Linked DNA regions of Homo sapiens: all the other regions are linked to region 2. Evidence: promoter capture Hi-C in 16 types of primary human blood cells and fetal thymus (Javierre and others, 2016). All regions are on one chromosome and are shown on one strand. Each heading gives the region's core, a stretch centred on a gene start or on the middle of the fragment in contact. The rest is flanking DNA. Distances are from core to core; before and after follow the strand shown. Region 1 overlaps ATP9B (ATPase phospholipid transporting 9B (putative)). Region 2 holds the start of ATP9B (ATPase phospholipid transporting 9B (putative)). Region 3 overlaps ATP9B (ATPase phospholipid transporting 9B (putative)).

Region 1 (3,710 bases), core at 46-2,545, 180 kb after region 2:
TAGGTCGGCGGACAGAGTGACAATCAATATGCATAGTCTGTAACATCAAAAGTTGGGTAGCTCCAGTTTGTGTAAACTAGGTGTGAGGGTTTACTTTGAACTCCCTTGTCTCTTAATTACGTGTCATATGTTGGTTTCAAACGTGGTTTTGCTTCCCTGTTTAGTAGCTGATTCTTGCATTAATACTTTTCTTATTTATACAAAAAATATAGTACTTTTTTATGTTAATGTTCAAGGGAAAACATTTTATATAATAACTATATAGCAAGCAAGGGAAAAAGCTTAAATTCTGAGTATAGAATAGGCAAAATGTTAAATTTCTTGGTAGGCAAACATGTAGGTTATGAAATAATTCTTTCAGAATAGACTTTAAATTGTCTATTGTGTAAATACAGGTTTTGATTTTTAAGAACTAAGGTGATAAATTGTAACATTAAGAATTGTTGTGCTGATACTTATTTAGGGAATTCTTAAAGCACAGATTATTGAGCCAACAGACTATAATGGCCAAAAGAAACCCTTCTTATTTCGCAGATCACTGAGGCGATAAACGATAATGGCTCAGCCACATCTATAGTGTGCGGTCAGCCTGCATGTACTACACACACTTAAGGCTTAGTAGTTCATATCCAAAAAAGAATAATAAACTTCAGAAGGAAAAAGACTATGTAGCATCACTTTTTAAAAACTAATACTTTTAATTTAAACTTCGTAATGGAAAAGTTGTTGCTCTAAAATTTAGTACTTAGATTTAGTGCATGAGTTTCATTTATTTGAAATGCAGAAACACAAATGAAGGTCTGAAAATTACTTATTTTTTTCTTGTCTCTTAAGATTCTACTAGCAGTGGAAAATATAGGGCTTATTTGTTTCAAAGATACTTAAAAGAATATGCTTTTTATAGGAATTTCAGTTAGGTTAATGCATAGCCCTATATCAGTTTTGTAGTCAGGGTCCAAATTCGAAATGAAGAACTGATCCACAAATAGTTCAGCTGATGAAAGACAAGCAGTGTTAACAGTTGTGTTTTTCTGTACGTAGTCAGCCATGTACAAAGCTGTTCTTCTCTGCTAGTGCAGAGTAGCATGAATGAATTGGGTGTCAGAGTCGAGGCTTTTCAAATTGTCCTATATTCACAGGGAAACTACAGGACAAACTAAAATAATTTAGTTTTCTGCAAGAGTTTAAATTGGCTATTTGAAGTTTTGCATTTTACTATTCTAAACTACTTCTTTGTAAGGGGTAAGTACGCGTGAGTTTTAAAAGATGGGTGAGAGTGTTTGGATGCCGACATCCTGTTCACCCAGGGTGACATCATCAGCAGTAAGTGTTGCACAGGCACTTTGTTGAATCATGGATAGGGCCTGAGACTTTACAGCATTCGACGTCTGCTCCAATTTGCCGTGTACATTGATTGCTTAGGAACTTAGTAGTATGATGTGAGTTTTAATTTTGAGATGGTTTGAAGTGTTGCTGTGTCATGGAGATAAGGTCTGATTCTCACTCGTCCGAGCATTCATTTAAAAAAAAAAAAAAGCCTGATCTTTTCTTGATTAAGCAGGAGAATACCGTATTTACCCTTTATTGTTGGTATAAACCATTATTTTACTGAGAACCATTAGCTATTTAAAACTTGGTACATAAATTAAAGAGGAGCTAAATGGATTTGTGATCGTTGCCATTAGTAGCATTTTAGATTATACAGGCAATTATTGTGTTCATTATCCTAGAACAGCCCCTTTGCAGAATCATTGTGGTTGTCTTAGACATTATGCACAAATTTTCCCTTGGAGATTAAAATTTGCAGTAGCATATTTAATTTTGTTATTGCAGTTGTTTCAAATAAATATTATGACAAGTAGAAGAAAATTTGCTTTACTAATATAGGAGATGACAATGAATGTTGAAAATAACTTCTAAGTGTATTTACATTACCTTTTCTTAAATAGTCGTAATTACTTCAAGTGATTAATATATTTTATGGGTGAAAAGTTTACAGTCATGGCAAAAGTTATCTGGTCTGTCCAGGTATTTAAGACATTTTTTAAAGAAGGAAGAGATCCACATCAAAACTAAAGTTACCACCTTCTTTATAGAATCTGTAACTTTATAAGTTAACTGGTTTTTATTTTAAATAGTTTATAAGAGTTCAGATTGTATTTTAGATCAGTTGAAGAAAAGCATGTTTCAGAGAAATTGAATATTAAAAGATTATTAATTGAAGTGGGTTAAAAAAATGCAAGTGTTGAAATGTGTCTTTTCTTCTGTTTTGTTAGAATTGAAAAAATAAAATAAAATAAAAGCAACCTACAAGCTTTACACTATATGCTGTAGTTTGGTTACAAGTTATATTCCAGGAACAACAGTCATAGTTCAGAAAATGCCACCTGCAAGGCACAGCCCATCCTTGAAAAGTTATATTTTATTCCACTAAATGTTTTATTGCTCTTAAGTTTAAAGGGGTTGGGAGAAGACAACATATACTTGGCTTCAAAGTGATTACATTCACTAGTCAAGCATCTGACCACATCTGTCTTCATCAATGAGAAAGGTAATAATGCTTTGATGATCTGCATATCGGTGTGCAGTGGGCGGCTTTGAATGTTTCCATCCAATACGTGGCATTTTTTGAAAGGAAACTTTGTATTCATTTCTGAATGTTTTTGTCCTGGCTTTTACAGTTCCTCACTGCTATGTTGCAGGGGAAAGTGTGAGGTGGTGGTTATGCATTTTGCAAGACAGTGATTCTTTATTTTATTACAAAAAAAGACCAACTCTGGAAGGCCAGATTAAATCATTCCTTTCACTTTTTAATGGGATTTGGATGAATAGAGTAAAATATGCACTTTGCATTCATTGATAGCATCTTTAGGTTGAGGTAATTGAGTCTTTTTTCCCTGAGTGAATGAATAATGACTTCATCTGATCCTCAGTGAGGCCTGAAACTTAGACCGCCTTTGTCACAGCAAAAGGATCTGGGCTTTGAAACATGCTCTACTTCCCTGGCTTAATTTTTCTTCATTTTAATCCAAAAACCTATTTTTCTCAATAATTCAAGCATAAACTATGTAGTAGTTGAAGTAGCGGAAATTGCACGATATTTGTCCTGGTTGTGCTGCTTTTTAAATAGAGCTGATAAATCAGCCGCTGTGGTCTTCAGCTGCCCCATTCTCAAGGGAAGGCACAGCCCATACCCGCAGCAGCGTTGGGAACTTCAGAACTGGTTGAGTACCGCTCCCTTTCCGACCATTTGTGATCTGGGGGAGCGGCGCTGTTACTGGTACTGTGGCTGACCCAGAGAAGAGAAAGCCCCATGCTGGAGCTCCGAGATGCTGCTGTGGACGTTTTACTTGGCTAGAAGGGGATCTGCTGCTGTGAATTAGAGGGCAGTGTGCTTTCTTGGGAGAATATAGAGCTGGGAATGTGCAGTCTTTGAAGAGTTTCTGTTGAAAATGAGCTGCTGTCTGTGTTGCTGTATTGCAACATGGAGAAGAGTTTTTGTGGCAGGCCAAGTGTCTCATTAATTGTTACATTAGAATCAAGTCACTATTTCATATAAAACTGACACTTTGTGTTTGAAGTGTCCTCAGGAGTCTTACACAGTGAAGTGGCCAAGTGAGCCCTGTGGCAGTGTGCGCAGGACAGATCACAGGAGGGGCCGCCCCACCCCGCTGAATGCGGCATCCCGTCTGTGTTGGTCATGGAACCCA
Region 2 (3,765 bases), core at 363-2,862:
TACTGAGTGAGGGTGAGGAGATGGTGTTACAGTGCCAGTGCTGTGAGAATGAGATGGTGTTATCAATATCAGTTGTTGAATGTGGGTGAGAGATGGTGTGAACAGTGTCAGCGGCTGAGAGTGAGGTAGAGAAATAATGGGTGAGGCCATTGTCAATTAGGAGGCCATTGGCGTCTTTTGAAAGTAGTTAGTGTCTGTGGAGTGGCATGTATTCAGGTTACATGAAAAGCAGCTGAGAAGCAAACTGGCAATCAGAGTGGCAGCAACAAATTAAGAATATTCATATTCATAAAGACCATTTTTTATAATGAAAAAGTAATACATGCAGATGGGGGAAGATCACCTGAACCTTGAGAGGTGGAAGATGTAGTGAGCCGTGATCAAAACATTACACTCCAGCCTGGGTAACAGAGACCCCATCTCCAAAAAACAGAAAAGAAAAGCATTTATAAGTTCATGTTGAACAGTGTTTCAAACACATAGACAAAATTTATATGTCATGAAAATGGAATATCAGAAAAACATTGTTTAAAAAAACACAAAGTGAGTAAACCATTAATACGTGAGGTGAGCGGTGCATCAGCTTGCCGGCTTCCAGCTGCAGCGGGTGATGGAGGTGGAAGGGAGCTGTCCTCGGGACAGGAAATGAAACAAACCCAACCAAAGCCGTGTATTCGTTTATTCAATATCGTTTTGCTTTCTTGTGTAGACTGAGGGTGTAAACCTCGTTTCTGACAGTCGCCTATAGGACTTTTCAGCAGGCTGTGGGCCTAGAGGTGGGGGATGTGGAATCAAGCTAAAGACCCAGAACCAGAGAAAGAAGGAAGCAGCAGTGAGGAAGCAGGACAAGAACATCTCGGAAATTCAGCCCGGCGCGGTGGGCGCGCCTGCAGTCGCGGCGCTTTGGGGGCCCGGGCCACGTAGCACGACCCTGCCTGTGAACGCACAGACACCAGCGGTTCCAAGGGCGCGGGCAGGAAGCGGGCACCGAAGGCAGGCTGGAGAAGCGCGGGGCGGAAGCAAGAAGCCGCGCGGCGAGGAGGGCGCGTGGGGCCCCACACAGCCATGGGGCGCGCGTACTACTGGCAGCGCAGGCTCTGGACCGCTAAGGAGGCCGCGCGCGCCCACGCGTGTCCCCGGCAGAGCTTCCAGGAGACGGCTGCGAGGCCCTTCCACCCGCGGACCAGAGCGCGCCGGGTCGAACCACGACCCACGTGCAGGCCCTCGCGCGCTACCGGAAGGCCAGCCTGTGGCGCACGCGCGCCCCGCCCCGCCGATCGGTGACGTCATCGGGCCCGTCACGAGGCGGGGGCGGGGCCTCGGAACGCGACGCCCCCCGTCCCAGCTTTAGCCACTCGTGACGTCATTGCCCGGACTCCACTGCCTCCTGCGCCGCGCTTTTGCCACCCTGGGCACGTCATCGTGCGCCGACGCCAAACGAGGGCGGGGCCTAGGGACGCCACACCTTCCGCGCCGCCGCTCGTTACGTCATCGGACCTCGCCGCTTGGCGGAGGCGGGGAAGGCCCGCAGGCGGCGCCTCAGCCGGGGTTGGCGCTGAGGGGAGAGGGCGGGGAAAAGGTGGCGAATTGAGGGGAAAGTGGGAGGGGCGGGAAAGGGGCGGTCGGAACATGGCGGACCAGATCCCGCTTTACCCGGTGCGTAGCGCAGCGGCGGCCGCAGCCAACCGCAAACGCGCGGCCTACTACAGCGCCGCGGGGCCCAGGCCGGGAGCCGACCGGCACAGCAGGTAACCGAGGCGGCACTGGCCCCGTTCCCCGCCGACGCTCCCCGGGGCCCCCAGCCCACCGCAGGAACCCGGAGCCGGGCGGGTCTGGGGTCGCTACCGGCGCGCCCCATCTGTTCGCTGGGAGCCGGGAGTCCTTGGCGTTCTGAGCGCGCCGCAGCTGTGGCGTCCGCCGGTGGTGAGGGCCGCGGGCAGCTGCCGGGGCGAGCGGCTGCATCCCCGGGACGCCTGGGCCGAGCGTAGGAGCCAGAACGGGAGCAGAGAACCGCGGTCCAGTGTTGAGGGGTGGCTGCTCTCCTAAAGTAAACGGGGATCAAAAGTGCTAACTTCTCGGATACTTCAGAGTCTCCGAAACTTGTTCTTGTAGCCCTGTGAATTGTGAAGGTGACGGATGTAACTTTTAATTGCTTTGTTAAAAACACACTTCTTATTGAAATGACTTCTCTTCGACATTTCGATATCTTTGCTAGGCACACTTTTTGTTTAAACATATATATACAAAGTGCTTTTTGTCGACAAGTAATTTTGCTTTTACGAAAGGGAAATGGGGTATTGAGAACGGTTAACTTGTTTAGTGGGGTCACAGGTTAGCAGTAGAATTAGTGTACAGACCTTTCATACTCGAGATTGCATTTAGCTCATATTTAACATTTCTCATTCAAAGAAAAGAAAATTTTAAAAAGTGTTGCTTCTTATAGTTTTTGAAGTTTTATTCCAGAGGAATTGTCGAAAACATAATTTCACTCAATATGTAGTTGCTTCAGAATTTGAGTTTTTGAATAATTTTTGTTTTCGGCCATTTGAGAGACTAACATATAGCTCAAAGTACATACTGGAATGTTATAACGCTGATTTGAGTGTTTACCCACTAGCGATTTACTCTCGGGTAACTTATTTAAACTCAAGCCATGGTTTCCTCATCTGTAAAATGCTGGATAATATTTTTTCTTACGGGATTATTGGAGATTACAGTAGAACATGTGTAAGGTGCCCTTTTTTCAGTGCTTGGTTGGAAGTGGGTTCTGGTGTTACCTATAACAGTAATTGTGTTAGTAAATCTGTTTAATTTTAGGAGTTCTTTAGTTGGAAATGTGCCACCTGTTTCAAAATAGGTTTCCATCACAGATTGAATCCATTTTTGCCTCATGTACTTTGAAGCACTGTCATGTGGTGCACGCACATTCAAGATTTTTTGTCATCTCGGTGGATTGTTCCTTTCATTGTTAATGTTCCTCTGTCTCTGGTAATTTTCTTTGCTCTAAAATCTTTATTAGATATTGATGTCGCCATTTATGCTTTTTTTTGGATTAATGTTTGCATGGTATTAGCTTTCAACTTACCTATGTTGAATTTGAAGTGAGTTTCTTGTTGGATCTTATATTTTTTATCAACTATGCCATTCTCTTTTGATTGGCATATTTACACCATTTACATTTACGATAATTACTGATATGTTAGAATATAAGTGTGCCATTTATTATCTGTGTTCTGTTTCTTCTGATTCTCATTCTGATTCCTGTTTCTTTTTTTTTTTTTTTTTGCCACTTTTTGGGTTACTTGGACACTTTTTTGGTATCCCTATAGTGTGTTTGAGATTAGGTGTTGGTATAGTTTTTACAGTGCTTGCTCTGGGTATTACAATATACAAATGTGACTTATCACCATGGTGTATTGCTGTATTTCACCACTTCCAGTCAAGTGTGGAAACCCTTCTTTCACTTAGGTCCTCACTTTAAGTATCATGTCCTGGGTATCAGATGGTGTTACAGTTTTTGTGTCAGTCATCAAATATGGTTTATAAAACTCATGATGATAAAGATAGTGTATTGCATATACCACATACGCATATTTCCCCTTTTTCTATTGTTCTTCCTTTTTTTTTTTTTTGAGACAGGGTCTCACTCTGTTCTCCTGGCTGGAGTTAGTGATGCGATCGTAGCTCATTACAGCTTTGATCTGTTGGGCCCAGGCAATCCACCCATGTAGCTGGGACTATAGGCACATACCACCATGCCTGGCT
Region 3 (3,534 bases), core at 326-2,825, 140 kb after region 2:
TAGCATTCAGTGTTGTGTCTTCCTAGTGGGCATGAAGACGGCTTTAAAACCATCCACTCGAGAAGCTTAATTAAGGTACCTTTAATGTTAGTTTGTATTCGAACATCTTTAAATGTAAGCTTTAATTTCAGCTCTTTTAGTACATACATATCTTTATTTAAAAGCCTTGTTAATGTGAACAGTTACACATTCTATATACCACACTGCTATATCCTAAGGAATGTTTGAAAGATTTTAAGATTTCCAGAGTAACCTAGGCACTCTTGTATTCTTTGTAATTGATTACAAGTTGAGAATTCCTTTTACTCTTATACTTTAAAAGTCGTATCTCAGTTGAATTCAAGTTGACTCTGGAGGGGAAGTGAACTCAGTGCTTCCTCCCCATCCCTAGAGTTCTGAATGCATGGGAACCGGGACTCAGGTTAGACACAGACAGGCAGATGCAGCAGACGAGAGGTGAGCCAAGGCAGGACACAGAGAGCCTGCTGTGCTGCCGGAGGTTTCACTTCCCATGTGGATCCAGAAAACTTGCTCTCTAAAATGCAGAACTGGGTCCTGGAGAACCATCGTGTTTATTATACTGATGAGCATACAAAGGAGTGTTCCTGATACTCAGCTGTCACAAAACTGGAAGGAAAGCTGGGCTCTCTAAGGCAAGGTTGACAAAAGTGTGACGGGGCTGTCAGAGGGCAATCCCTGGCCATGTGGACCCACGCCTGGGTGCGGGTCTCCTTGTCACTCAGTGGGCCAGCCGTGTGGTGTCTAGACCTGGGTGAGGGTCTTCTGTGTCTCTGTGTCTCAGCCATGTGGACTCTAGACCTGGGTGTGGGTCACCTGTGTCTCTGTGTCCTGGCTGTGTGGACTCTAGACCTTGGTTGGGGGTCTCCTTTGTAGTCTGTGCACCAGTTTTGGTCTAGGTTGTTTACATCCTGGGGCTCAGTTCACGGTCTTCATCAGTTTTCCTGCACTTGGTGCGTGGTTGGAGTTGTACGTGCAGTGCTCAGTGTCTGCCTTGCTATCATCGGGTCCAGCCCGGGAGCGCCTGCCCCAGGGAGCAGTGCACACTGGGGTTCTGTGGAAATTGGCTCCTGGAGGGCATCTGCGAGTTGGAGTGTGTTCCAGAGGCTGGTGTATGTGGCCCTGCCTGCTTTTGCTAACGGTATCTAGCAGGTTTTGGGTGTATAATTGAGAGTCAACAAATACATTGATTTGTTAATACCTCTGTCTCTCATTAGACACACATGAAATACATATTTACTTTTAGTAAGCATTTCACATCATTTTGATTTGATAACTTAAGGCCATTAATTGTTTTGTTAAAGTGGTCTAGGTTTTATATTTTGTGTTTTTAAATAATTTTCTATGAATCATCTTAATTAATTTGAATTTGTGAGGATTGGTTATCTGCAAATTAAACATATCAGTGGTTAGAAATAGCAACTAAAAGTATTGCAATAGGCCTATCATTTGAAATATTGAGTGGACTACTTGTTTGGAAGTGCTGGATTATGATTTCTGGTATAAACTAGAAATGTTTAAATAAAGGAGAGTATATTTTTCTACAAAATTTGACCTTGTTAGCATTCTTTGTCTTGCTTTGCAACATGGAAGTTGTTTGCTTAAAATACAACTGTAGTCAATTAGAAGGTGGTATAATTTTGCATGAAATTTTCTATATAGCCTGTAGCAAGGAAGGCACATAGTAACTAACAGAGTAATTATTATCCCACTCACATGAAATTGTGATTGAACAGAAGTTGGACATGATAGGGTTGGACTATAGAATGACTTGCAGACCATCCACATAGCAGCCTCTTTGAAGTAGGCTAAGTCTCGAGGGCCCTAGTCATGGGGTCTGTGGAGTGTAGGAGTAAATGTGGTCATATTTTATGCCTCCCTTTTTGGACCCAAAGCATCTGAATATTTAATATTAATTTTTACCTGTAGTCAATTTGAAGTGTGCAGTTATGGATCAGGCAAATGTAATCACTGGCTTTGAAGATTAAGTGCTCCTAAATCTTTTAAAATGTTGTCTTGGGATAAATGAAGTTAAATTTTTGATTTAATGATGAATACTGGACCACCATCATTTTTAGGGTCCTGTTAAGAACTGGTTTGTTGTTGTGGTTGTGGTTTTAATCTACCAACATGGTCCTGAACTCAGGTCTTTCTGATGTAGAAGTTTCTCCAGTTGGAGCGCGTTGTGAGGGAGGTGGATCTTGATTTTACACTGAAAATATGGGTTAAAGTTTTGGAATTCTTCTGTTTAAGTATTTCATTGAGTGAGAAATCTTTGTGACATTTATATTTGTCACATTCAGTCTCCTGTTATCTTATACGACACAAAATGAGTTTATCATACTTTGTTGCCCTCTCATGTCTCATTTCGCAATCCACAGTTAATCCCTTTCCTCTGTTTTGCCTTGTATACTCAGGTTTTACTCAGTCTTTTAGCCTATTGTACTTCATAAGTACATACCCTTTGTGAAAGAGAATGGAAAATGTCCCAAATATTTCTGCACTGATTCTAGTTACGTTAGATATTAAAAAGCATGACACTCAGAAAAATTCATTTAATCTAATTCTAGTAAGTGTTGATTTTTCATGAGAATCAAGTGAGAGAATACTTACGAGAGCCTTTAGCAAACTTTAACAGATTATACAAATATTGTACCAGGACCTCTGTTAAAAATGTATAACATATGCCTTGTTATGTATCACATTGAATTGAGGTACTGTGCATTGTAAGGCCACTCTAGAGTCCACTTTGCTCATCAGTCAACCTGCTTTCAGCTCAACGGTTTCTAGCTTGATTAATTCTTGCAAAGCCTTTTCTGAGATTTGCTCATTCTGCTAATGTTAAAAAATAAGTTAATTTTGCAGTTTGCCTTCTTACATCATTGTGATAATTTAACATTAGTGGGATGTTTATATTTTGATTTAAACTAGATTGGCAAAACAGAAAATACTGATCAGATGATATTTAATATTTAGCTTCACTGATGTGAAGTAATTCTATGATCTCCTTTTGAAAGCTTTTTATAGTATTGTATTATATATTTAATATTTCTCTGCGTAGTAAGTATAGTCATCTAATCTCAGAAGTTTATGTGGATAATAGTAATAAAGACGGCATTTGTGCATCGGGGAGCTTATATTCTAAGTGTGAGCTGGCCTTGCCTTTCATGAACTTTTACAAACTGAAGCCTCACACTTCTCAGTGACACTCAATTAAAAGAGAAATATATATAATCTCCACACATATCCCTGCTGGGGAATACTTCACATCTTCCACCTTCCTAGATTTTCTAGAGAGGAAGGTGTAAGCCATGTGATATGTATAATATGTAACATATCAAGGTTCACGAAAAGCCGGGAGTTCATATCAATCATCTTTACTTCAAAGAGCCTGTCTTATGATGCTCTGCATTTTACATGTTAAGTTAATGTGACATCAGAGTTTTCATATAATTATTATAGTTAATTCTGTAATGGTTGGTAATTGCACATTATGTGTATATACTTTCTCACCTT

Evidence for each region. The method cuts DNA at HindIII sites, captures the fragments that hold promoters and counts their contacts. A CHiCAGO score of 5 or more calls a contact.
Region 1: a fragment that was not itself captured here is called in contact with the fragment with the promoter of ATP9B in region 2 in 2 of 17 cell types (M2 macrophages and M0 macrophages); the score reaches 7.3 in M2 macrophages.
Region 3: a contact is called between a fragment that was not itself captured here and the fragment with the promoter of ATP9B in region 2, in 1 of 17 cell types (M2 macrophages). The highest score is 6.2, in M2 macrophages.

The regions. Positions count from the first base shown.
Region 1 is chr18:79,247,558-79,251,267 of GRCh38, forward strand. The region is part of intron 11 of ATP9B (ATPase phospholipid transporting 9B (putative)); the gene reads left to right. Among named protein-coding and RNA genes, the nearest start is that of NFATC1, 150 kb to the right of the region's middle. RefSeq lists an enhancer at 2,452-3,238. The HindIII fragment of the contact is 2,033 bases long and covers 280-2,312 here.
Region 2 is chr18:79,067,782-79,071,546 of GRCh38, forward strand. It overlaps ATP9B (ATPase phospholipid transporting 9B (putative)), which reads left to right and starts at 1,613. Exons shown (of 30, transcript NM_198531.5): 1 at 1,613-1,748. The coding sequence starts at 1,630. The HindIII fragment of the contact is 22,095 bases long and covers 1-3,765 here.
Region 3 is chr18:79,209,648-79,213,181 of GRCh38, forward strand. All of the region lies in intron 10 of ATP9B (ATPase phospholipid transporting 9B (putative)), which reads left to right. Among named protein-coding and RNA genes, the nearest start is that of ATP9B, 140 kb to the left of the region's middle. The HindIII fragment of the contact is 2,916 bases long and covers 118-3,033 here.